Linked DNA regions of Homo sapiens: regions 1 and 3 are each linked to region 2. Evidence: promoter capture Hi-C in 16 types of primary human blood cells and fetal thymus (Javierre and others, 2016). All regions are on one chromosome and are shown on one strand. The core of a region is centred on a gene start or on the middle of the fragment in contact, and the rest is flanking DNA. Distances in the headings are between cores, read along the strand shown.

Region 1 (2,700 bases), core at 61-2,560, 140 kb after region 2:
CAGTATAATATCATAACATATACTAATTTTTAACCCAGGGCAAGGAGAGGTAAATGATAAGCTTTTTCAGCTAGCTGGGAGTCAATATTTCTTCGTTTTAATTCTTTACCACATGAGTCTCCTTGGACAGCTTATTTCCCTTTTGCTTCTTCATCTGTAAAATATTCATTGAGTCTAAATTGACATAAGTTATAAGACTTTCTATTATTTTATGTGCCACACTAAGAAGAAATAAATATTGTAATTGAACTATGATTCAGTGCTTTTTGTTGTCATCATTGTTTGGCATCCCTGGGTGGGTCATTAACCATCAGTGCTTTTATATGACATTGATTTATCCTATGTTACTGTGTGTATTTGAATAAATTAAAAATAATTGGTACCATCAACCTTCTGGGTTTATAAAGAATAAGTACAGTAATGTACTTAAATTGAGGAACACAGTGCCTAGCACATTGTAAGTACTCAACAAGTGGTAGCCATTATGTTGATGTTGATGGTGATTTGATCATGAGCACTCTCTTTTAAGTGGTGTTCATTGTTTAGGTTGTTCTTTGGGGGTCAGAATCATTAATAGGTTATATTGATGAGATTTATTGGTGGTAGTCAGAATGCCCACTCGTTTTGAAGCTGAAGTAGCATAACAGTAAAATAACATGTTTAGTTGGTTTTTGGAGGTAATTGTTTTAATGAATAGCACTTCATTGTCAATGAAATTTGTTCATGGACTACTGTTGAAGTTACCTCCAGGAGTAAGTTCTATTGACATCAACTTCCTGGGTTGGTTGAAGTCACTTTTTTTGAAGAGAATTTAGTTCAAGTATACAACATGAGTAATTTAGTTCAAGTACACAACATGTGAAACTTAGTAAAATTATATTAGTGATATTATGATATGAAACCTCAGGTTTTAATTTTTTTTTTCATTTTCTGTCTATACAGGAGGCAGACAGTGGGGAGGAAGAATGCCGGTCACAGCCCAGGAGGTATGTTTGTTCATTATATCCTACGGCATTTTTGTTGTAGGATATTTTTGTAGTAGTTATTGTTTTTTCTCTAATTCTTTTTCAGTCTTATCAGATTAGCTTATCCTTGTTTTTCAACGTGCTTCCTTGGTCTCTCAAGAAACCAGATTGCACCTGGGCATGGTATTTTGTGCCTGTAATTCCAGCTACTTGGGATTGCTTAAGGCCAGGAGTTTGAGACAACGTATCAGGACCTTCCTCCGTTTTTTAAAAAAAAAAAGAGTAAGAGCGAATGCTTTAGGAATCCAGTTACTGACTCAGAAAGATTTTTCAATGGTACATTGGTTTAAAAAGAGGCAGAAAGGTCAATTTTGGCTCAGTTTTCACCCAAGCATCCAAGGAATTATCTTGGGGGTAATAAAAAAGCAAAATTTCCTTACCTTTCAGGAAAATATCAACTGAAGAACATTTCAGCCTTCAGTTTTGTACTTAATTTGTCATTCATATTTGATAAATTTTGGCAATTCTTGCAGATTGGTAAATATTTCACTTTGTTTCTATACAAAGGGTATACTGAGTAAGTATACTGAGTAACCTACCTAATCTTTTAAAATGCAATGAAATATTTTTACCCTCTTCTCATGGAATAGTGGGCATGTTGTTAGAAGGGTGCCAGTACCCAGTAACATTAAAAGAAAACAATTGTGAGAGAAATCTAGGAAGTATAAAATAACATTTATTTTATCTCCTTTAAGGGTTTTTAAAAGTAACTCCCTCCCACAAGAAACAGGCCTGGTAAGTTCTAGATGGTCATTTCAATGTTACCAAACTTGTATCCTCTGAACTCAAATGAGCCATTCTAGATGATACAGAGAAAGGATCAATAAGCATGCTCATTGTGAAGAAGCTGGCTAAAGGGAATGCTGCTTTAATAATTATCAGGCCGGGCGCGGTGGCTCACGCCTGTAATCCCAGCACTTTGGGAAGCCGAGGCAGGCGGATCACGAGGTCAGGAGATCAAGACCATCCTGGCTAACACGGTGAAACCCTGTCTCCACTAAATACAAAAAATAAGCTGGGCATGGTGGCGGGTGCCTGTAGTCCCAGCTACTCAGGAGGCTGAGGCAGGAGAATGGCGTGAACACGGGAGGCGGAGCTTGCAGTGAGCCGAGATCGCGCCACTGCACTCCAGCTTGGGCTACAGAGCGAGACTCCGTCTCAAAAACAAGAACAAACAAAAAATAATAAAAATTATTATTATTATTATCAGGTGTTTGTTGATATATACCTCCTTCTTGTAAACTACAACTTAATATAAAAATAGTTCCTTTTCATCAGTAACTGAGATTATCGGTAGTTTTTTTCCTGATTTGTTAACACATAAATTGTGGGCTTAAGGCTTAATTTCTCGTGTCTCTTAGCAAAGAGAAGTGTCCTTCTTTTGCATAGGGCTAAGGAGGTAGAAACCAAAAATAAATTTTAGCTGAATGTGTACCAGAGGCATCGTAATCATATTCCCATTAGAATGAAAAAATAATTCTTATATTTTCTAGAAGGTCAGATTTAAAGCTCTCTGAGTCAATTTCAAGCTTTATATATTGACTCAATATCCACTGGAATAATGTTGTTCCAAAAAATTACCTAATGATGAGGCAATGGAAGTCATTCTCTTATTCACAGTACTGAATTGTCAAGCCATTAAGAACTATAAAGGCCAGGCGCGGTGGCTCACACC
Region 2 (2,700 bases), core at 131-2,630:
CAGATTGTTTAATCTGTGAACCATACATCTTTGTTTAATTTTGTCTCACAGGCACTCCTGATCACCACCAGGGGGCAAAAGCCTACCAGCTGGCTTCTCTGCACTACACTCTACATAGGACTGTACAGTACAGGGACCCTCAGTGTCTGATTCTTGATGGAACCTCCCTGCTAATTATTTCAACCACAGGGCCCCAGGGAGAGAACAAAGGCTCAGCACAGAGGACTCTTGTGGCGTTTAACCGTACAGCAGCCAGAAAGAGCTCATGACAGCCCTGTCAGTTTAAAAGAAGCAATGAGATCCAAGAGTGTTTGAGTGACAAACAGGAGGGGGTGGGTTTTAATAACTGCAAACTCCCAAGTGTGTGTGTTTTCTACAGCTTTGATATGTACGGTGGTATTTACCAGCTCATCCACTCAAGCTGAGAAATAGCCTTGTCAACTCTCTTTCTTTGTGTAAATAATCAGTGATATTTGCATTGTGCAATTTTTTTCCTTTTTAATCTTGATTTTCCATTACATTCTTTGCTTATGTTCTGCAGACAATTTACCCCTGAGAAAACCATTCCCTTAAAATATCTTTTAATCTACATTTTTACATAGGTCTATGAAAGAATGACATTTAGAGACGAAGGAGAAGAAAGCTTAACGAGCAAATCCTGTTTAATTAAAAGACTGTCTTCACAGCAGGAGGCAAGTGAGAGGTCAATAGCAGGCTGGACCCTCACAACCGGCTTCCTCGGACTCCCAGGCGCGCTCAGCTTCTCTTCTCCTCAGGAATAATGAATAAGTCTTTAGACAGGCAATAGAGGAAGCATGAGGGTACCACAAACCTTTCCAGGGTATCAAACGGAAAATGGTTTTCTTTCCAGAAGTCTCATCATAAAACATAGACGGAAGGGGGGGAAAAGTTAAGAAAAAGCCCCCGAGAGCCGGGGTGAAGGGAGTAAACTGGTCTAGCCCAGTTCTGTCTGCGCCCAGTGAGAGGGTTTGAAACTCCGCGGAGCCCTTTCCCAATAGAAAACGTGTTTGCTTCAGGATTTTCATCTCAGCTGCTTTTTTTTAAGGTTGGTTAAGCTGTGCGCCGCCCCACCTCATAAAATGGTTGTCTCTCAGGAGTGAAGACTCCAGCGGCCCCCCGCCCTGGGACCCCTCACCGGGCTGGCTCCCTTCGGCCCCTTCCCCCACCCCACTCCACAGCACCCAGTGCTGGCAAACCGCGCGATTCCAGCACGAAGGAGGAAACCCAGGAGGGTGCGGCGGCCCGAGGCGCACGCACTCGGCCAGCTTCCGGCAACTCAAGGGTTACGACCAGGCGGCGGCGCGCGCCGAGGGGAGAGGCGGTAGCTGACAGGTGGCGCCTGCGCACTGGGAGCGCTCATTGTGCCCCGCAGCTGCGGAACCGCCCGCCCGCCGCCCGTTCGGAGCGTCAGTCGGCGACAGTCTGGTGGTGGGTGCGGAGTCTGCGGCCGTTCCCGCGGCCTCCTCCTCCTCCCCGTTCCCTTCACCCCCACCCCGCACCCCTTTCCCCATCCCGGCTCCGTCACCCTCCCGTCCCCCACACTCAGGACAAGAATGCCCTGCCCGGAACAACCCAGCAGCGCCTAGATGGCTTTGGTCACGGTCCAGCGGTCACCTACCCCCAGCACCACCTCCAGCCCCTGCGCCTCGGTGAGTCCTTCCTGGCGGCCGCTCCGCTTGCTTCTGTCACTGCGGCTCCGCTTTGCCTCAGCGGGTCCCGCCGAACGCCACTGCGCACGCGCCGCGCCGCTTCCCAGGCCTTGGCACTCGGCTGCCGCGAACCCCCCCACACCCCCATGTTAAAGACTAGCAGCAGGAACTACAAGACGTTGATTTTTGCCCCCATCACCCTGAGCACCTAGCTCCTCACAATCCTCGCCCTGAAATCCCCTGTGGCATGCCTCCCTATGGCTTGAGCACTTCCTTTTGGTAATGAGTCATTCTTGCTTTTCACCCTCCCCCTTCTTTTACCCTCTGTTGCTCTGCTGCAGGGAGGGGACCGTGAGCCTCCTGCGTTGCCCCTTACCCACACCCACATCTCTTACCCACACCATTTCATAGACCTGTTCAGTATTTGCACACTGCACACCCTTCTTCGTACTCGCCAGGGTGTGTGCCTTCCCCTAGTCACTTGCTGGCTTTCTTTTGCTCTGTACTGTTCAGGCTTTGAACTGCCCAACCGTAGTTATTCCTTGGTTTCTCCCGCCTGCCCCCCACCCCAGAGGGTAGCAATGATCTCTGTTTCCTGGACCTCTTACCTTTCCTTTATGAGGTCCCGAAGCATCTGGTGCTGCTTAGTGATCAGTGTCAAATTATTTCCGTCTTACAGATATTTATGCCTTACACTCATTGCTCGTGATCATTCTTGTTCTAAGGTCGTGTTTGTATGGCTCGTTACCTCAGATGCCTATGCCAATAAAGCATGCTCTCAGAAGGAAAATACCCAGTAACCAGCCTTTCCCCGCTGGGCCCGTCTTTGCCTTCTCTCCTCGCCCCACCCCCATTCGTTTACACTCCATTCTCTTAGGCTCCATTTTTGAAAATATTTATTTTTAAAAACAATATATTGCACCAGTGGGGCAAATGGGCTTTAAAAAACCAACATCCAGATGTTTTAGAGAGAAATAAACTGAGTGAAAATGCGAGCAACTGGGAAAACCACCTTGAACTTCCTACAGAA
Region 3 (2,700 bases), core at 26-2,525, 210 kb after region 2:
AGCCATAGAAAACCCTTCCAAATCTGTACCTCTCCCCATCTGTACTGAAGCCCTCTCCACTGTTTCCCCATACAATAGGATTGAAGTTGTTCTGTCCCTCTGACCAGGCCTTTGCACATGCTGCTCCCCCTGCCTGAAACATCCTTTCTTTTCCCTCCTAACCTCCTTTCACCTGACTAATGCCTACCCAGGCTCCAGAATGGATTGAATAGATGTCCTTCCATGGAGGAAGAAGCGTTCTGCCTCCCCTCTCTTCTGGAGAGGGCGGTTAGTGTGTTTGTTTTATTTTTTATTTAAGTCTCTGCTCGAATATCATCTTGACCACCTCCTTACCTAAAACAGCAGTGCACCTTGTCATTTTTTAGCCTCTTACCCACTGCTTACTTCACAGCATTTATTATCACCTGACATTTTACTTATTTGTCTCTCTCTACCTCCACTGTCACAAATCTATTGATTCCCTGGCTTTTTTTAAATTTTCTTTTAAGTTCTGGGATACATTTGCAGAACATGCAGGTTTCTTACATAGGTATACATGTGCCATGGTGGTTTGCTGCACCTATCAACCCATCATCTAGGTTTTAAGCCCCACATGGATTAGATATTTGTCCTACTGCTCTCCCTCCTCTTGCCCCCAGCCCTCCGACAGGCCCCAGTGTGTGATGTTCCCTTCCCTGTGTCCATGTGTTCTCATTGTTCAACTCCCACTTATGAGTGAGAACATGCAGTGTTTGGTTTTCTGTTCCTGTGTTAGTTTGTTGAGAATGATGTTTTCCAGCTTCATCCATGTCCCTGCAAAGGACATAAACTCATTCTTTTTTATGGCTGCATAGTATTCCATGGTGTATATGTGCCACATTTTCTTTATCCAGTCTATCATTGATGGGCATTTGGGTTGGTTCCAAGTCTTTGCTATTGTAAATGTAGCTGCAGTAAACATACATGTGCATGTGGCATGTGTCTTTATAGTAGAATGATTTAGAATCTTTTGGGTATATACCCAGTAATGGGATTCCCTGGCTTTTTTTTTTTTTTTTTTTTTTGGAGACTGATTCTTGCTGTGTCGCCCAGGCTGGAGTGCAGTGGTGCAATCTTGGCTCACTGCAACCTCGGCGTCCTGGGTTCAAGCAATTCTCCTGCCTCAGCCTCCTGAGTAGCTGGGACTACAGGCACGCACCACCATGCCCGGCTAATTTTTTGTATTTTTAGTAGAGACGGGGTTTCACCATGTTAGCCAGAATGGTCTCGATCTCCTAACCTCGTGATCTGCCCGTCTTGGCCTCCCAGAGTGCTGGGATTACAGGCGTGAGCCACCGTGCCTGGCCGATTCCCTGGCTTTTATAAAAGTTCATTGCTGTATTCCAGTGCCTTGAATGGGACCTGCTACATAATAAGCTCTCAACAAATACCTGTTGAATGAAAATCTGTGATGTATTCTTGAAAAGTTTTCAAACCAAACTGAGTTTCAGAATCAACTAGAACACCTTCAGAAAAAATTAACGGCCAGGCACGGTGGTTCACACCTGTAATCCTAGCACTTTGGGAGGCCGAGGTGGGTGGATTGCCTGAACTCAAGAGTTTGAGACCAGCCTGGGCAACATGGTGAAACCTTGTCTCTACTAAAATACCAAAAATTAGCTGGGCATGGTGGCATGCGCCTGTAATCCCAGCTACTCGGGAGGCAGAGGCAGGAGAATTGCTAGAACCCGTGAGGTGGAGGTTGCAGTGAGCTGAGAATGCACCACTGCACTCCAGCCTGGGCAATGAGCGAGACTCTGTCTCTTTGAAAAAAAAAAAAAAAAAAAAAAAGATTTGGTAATCTGGGTCCTTAGAATAGGGTTTTGTTTTTTTTTTTTTTTTTTGAGACAGAGTTTTGCTCTTGTTGCCCAGGCTGGAGTGCAATGGCACAATCTTGGCTCACTGTAACCTCCGCCTCCCGGGTTCAAGTGATTCCCCTGCCTCAGCCTCCCAGGTAGCTGGGATTACAGGCATGTGCCACCACGCCCGGCTAATTTTGTATTTTTAGTAGAGATGGGGTTTCACCATGTTGGTCAGGCTGGTCTTGAACTCCCGACCTCAGGCCATCCACCCACCTCGGCCTCCCGAAGTGCTGGGATTACAGGTGTGAGCCACCCTGCCCGGCTAGAATAGGTTCTGACATCCACATTTTAAAACCTCAGTTAGATTATATGAGTACAGAAAGAATAGGCACCTTCCTCTGTTTTGCATGTATTACACCTTTGAGTTAAAATCTGTATCTAGTTGATTAAATTATAATTTGGTCTGTTGTAGCTTTTGCTGTCACCAACAGGAAAATGTGGGTCCTGTGAACTATGTGGAATTAACTGACTGAGAATTCAGGAAGAGGAGCTTATATAGGACCTAAGAGAGGCTACTGTGCCTGAACAAGAGATTTCCCACATCTTTTGTAGTCAGTTTGCCCAGAAGGTAGATGTATGGGAGTATCCCATACAATACACCCAACTTCTCAGAAAAGGGAAGTTCAAGACAGAACACCAGATAGAACTTTGCAAGTAAATTTTTCAAGTGGAAGAAGTTCCCCCTAGCATGAGGCCTGATTAAAGGCTGCAAACAAGAACAAATAAGGCCTTTCCTGTGGTTTGTATGACAAATGTGGGCTTTCTCACCTGCCAGAAGAGCTGCCCTACCCCCCACCCCAGAATCACTTTGGTCCTTTAT

The links. The method cuts DNA at HindIII sites, captures the fragments that hold promoters and counts their contacts. A CHiCAGO score of 5 or more calls a contact.
Region 1: a fragment that was not itself captured here is called in contact with the fragment with the promoter of SSH2 in region 2 in 7 of 17 cell types (M2 macrophages, M0 macrophages, megakaryocytes and 4 more); the score reaches 9.4 in M2 macrophages.
Region 3: a contact is called between a fragment that was not itself captured here and the fragment with the promoter of SSH2 in region 2, in 1 of 17 cell types (fetal thymus). The highest score is 5.3, in fetal thymus.

What each region holds. Positions count from the first base shown.
Region 1 is chr17:29,792,180-29,794,879 of GRCh38, reverse strand. SSH2 (slingshot protein phosphatase 2) reads left to right here. Exons shown (of 16, transcript NM_001282129.2): 3 at 943-986. Among named protein-coding and RNA genes, the nearest start is that of SSH2, 140 kb to the left of the region's middle. The HindIII fragment of the contact is 2,493 bases long and covers 64-2,556 here.
Region 2 is chr17:29,928,908-29,931,607 of GRCh38, reverse strand. SSH2 (slingshot protein phosphatase 2) reads left to right here and starts at 1,380. Exons shown (of 16, transcript NM_001282129.2): 1 at 1,380-1,670. The coding sequence starts at 1,608. It also overlaps a transcript of EFCAB5 not described here. RefSeq lists silencers at 198-367, 1,101-1,190, 1,341-1,620, 2,131-2,180. The HindIII fragment of the contact is 8,919 bases long and covers 646-2,700 here.
Region 3 is chr17:29,723,691-29,726,390 of GRCh38, reverse strand. The region is part of intron 3 of SSH2 (slingshot protein phosphatase 2); the gene reads left to right. Among named protein-coding and RNA genes, the nearest start is that of SSH2-AS1, 86 kb to the right of the region's middle. RefSeq lists a silencer at 2,615-2,700. The HindIII fragment of the contact is 3,748 bases long and covers 1-2,700 here.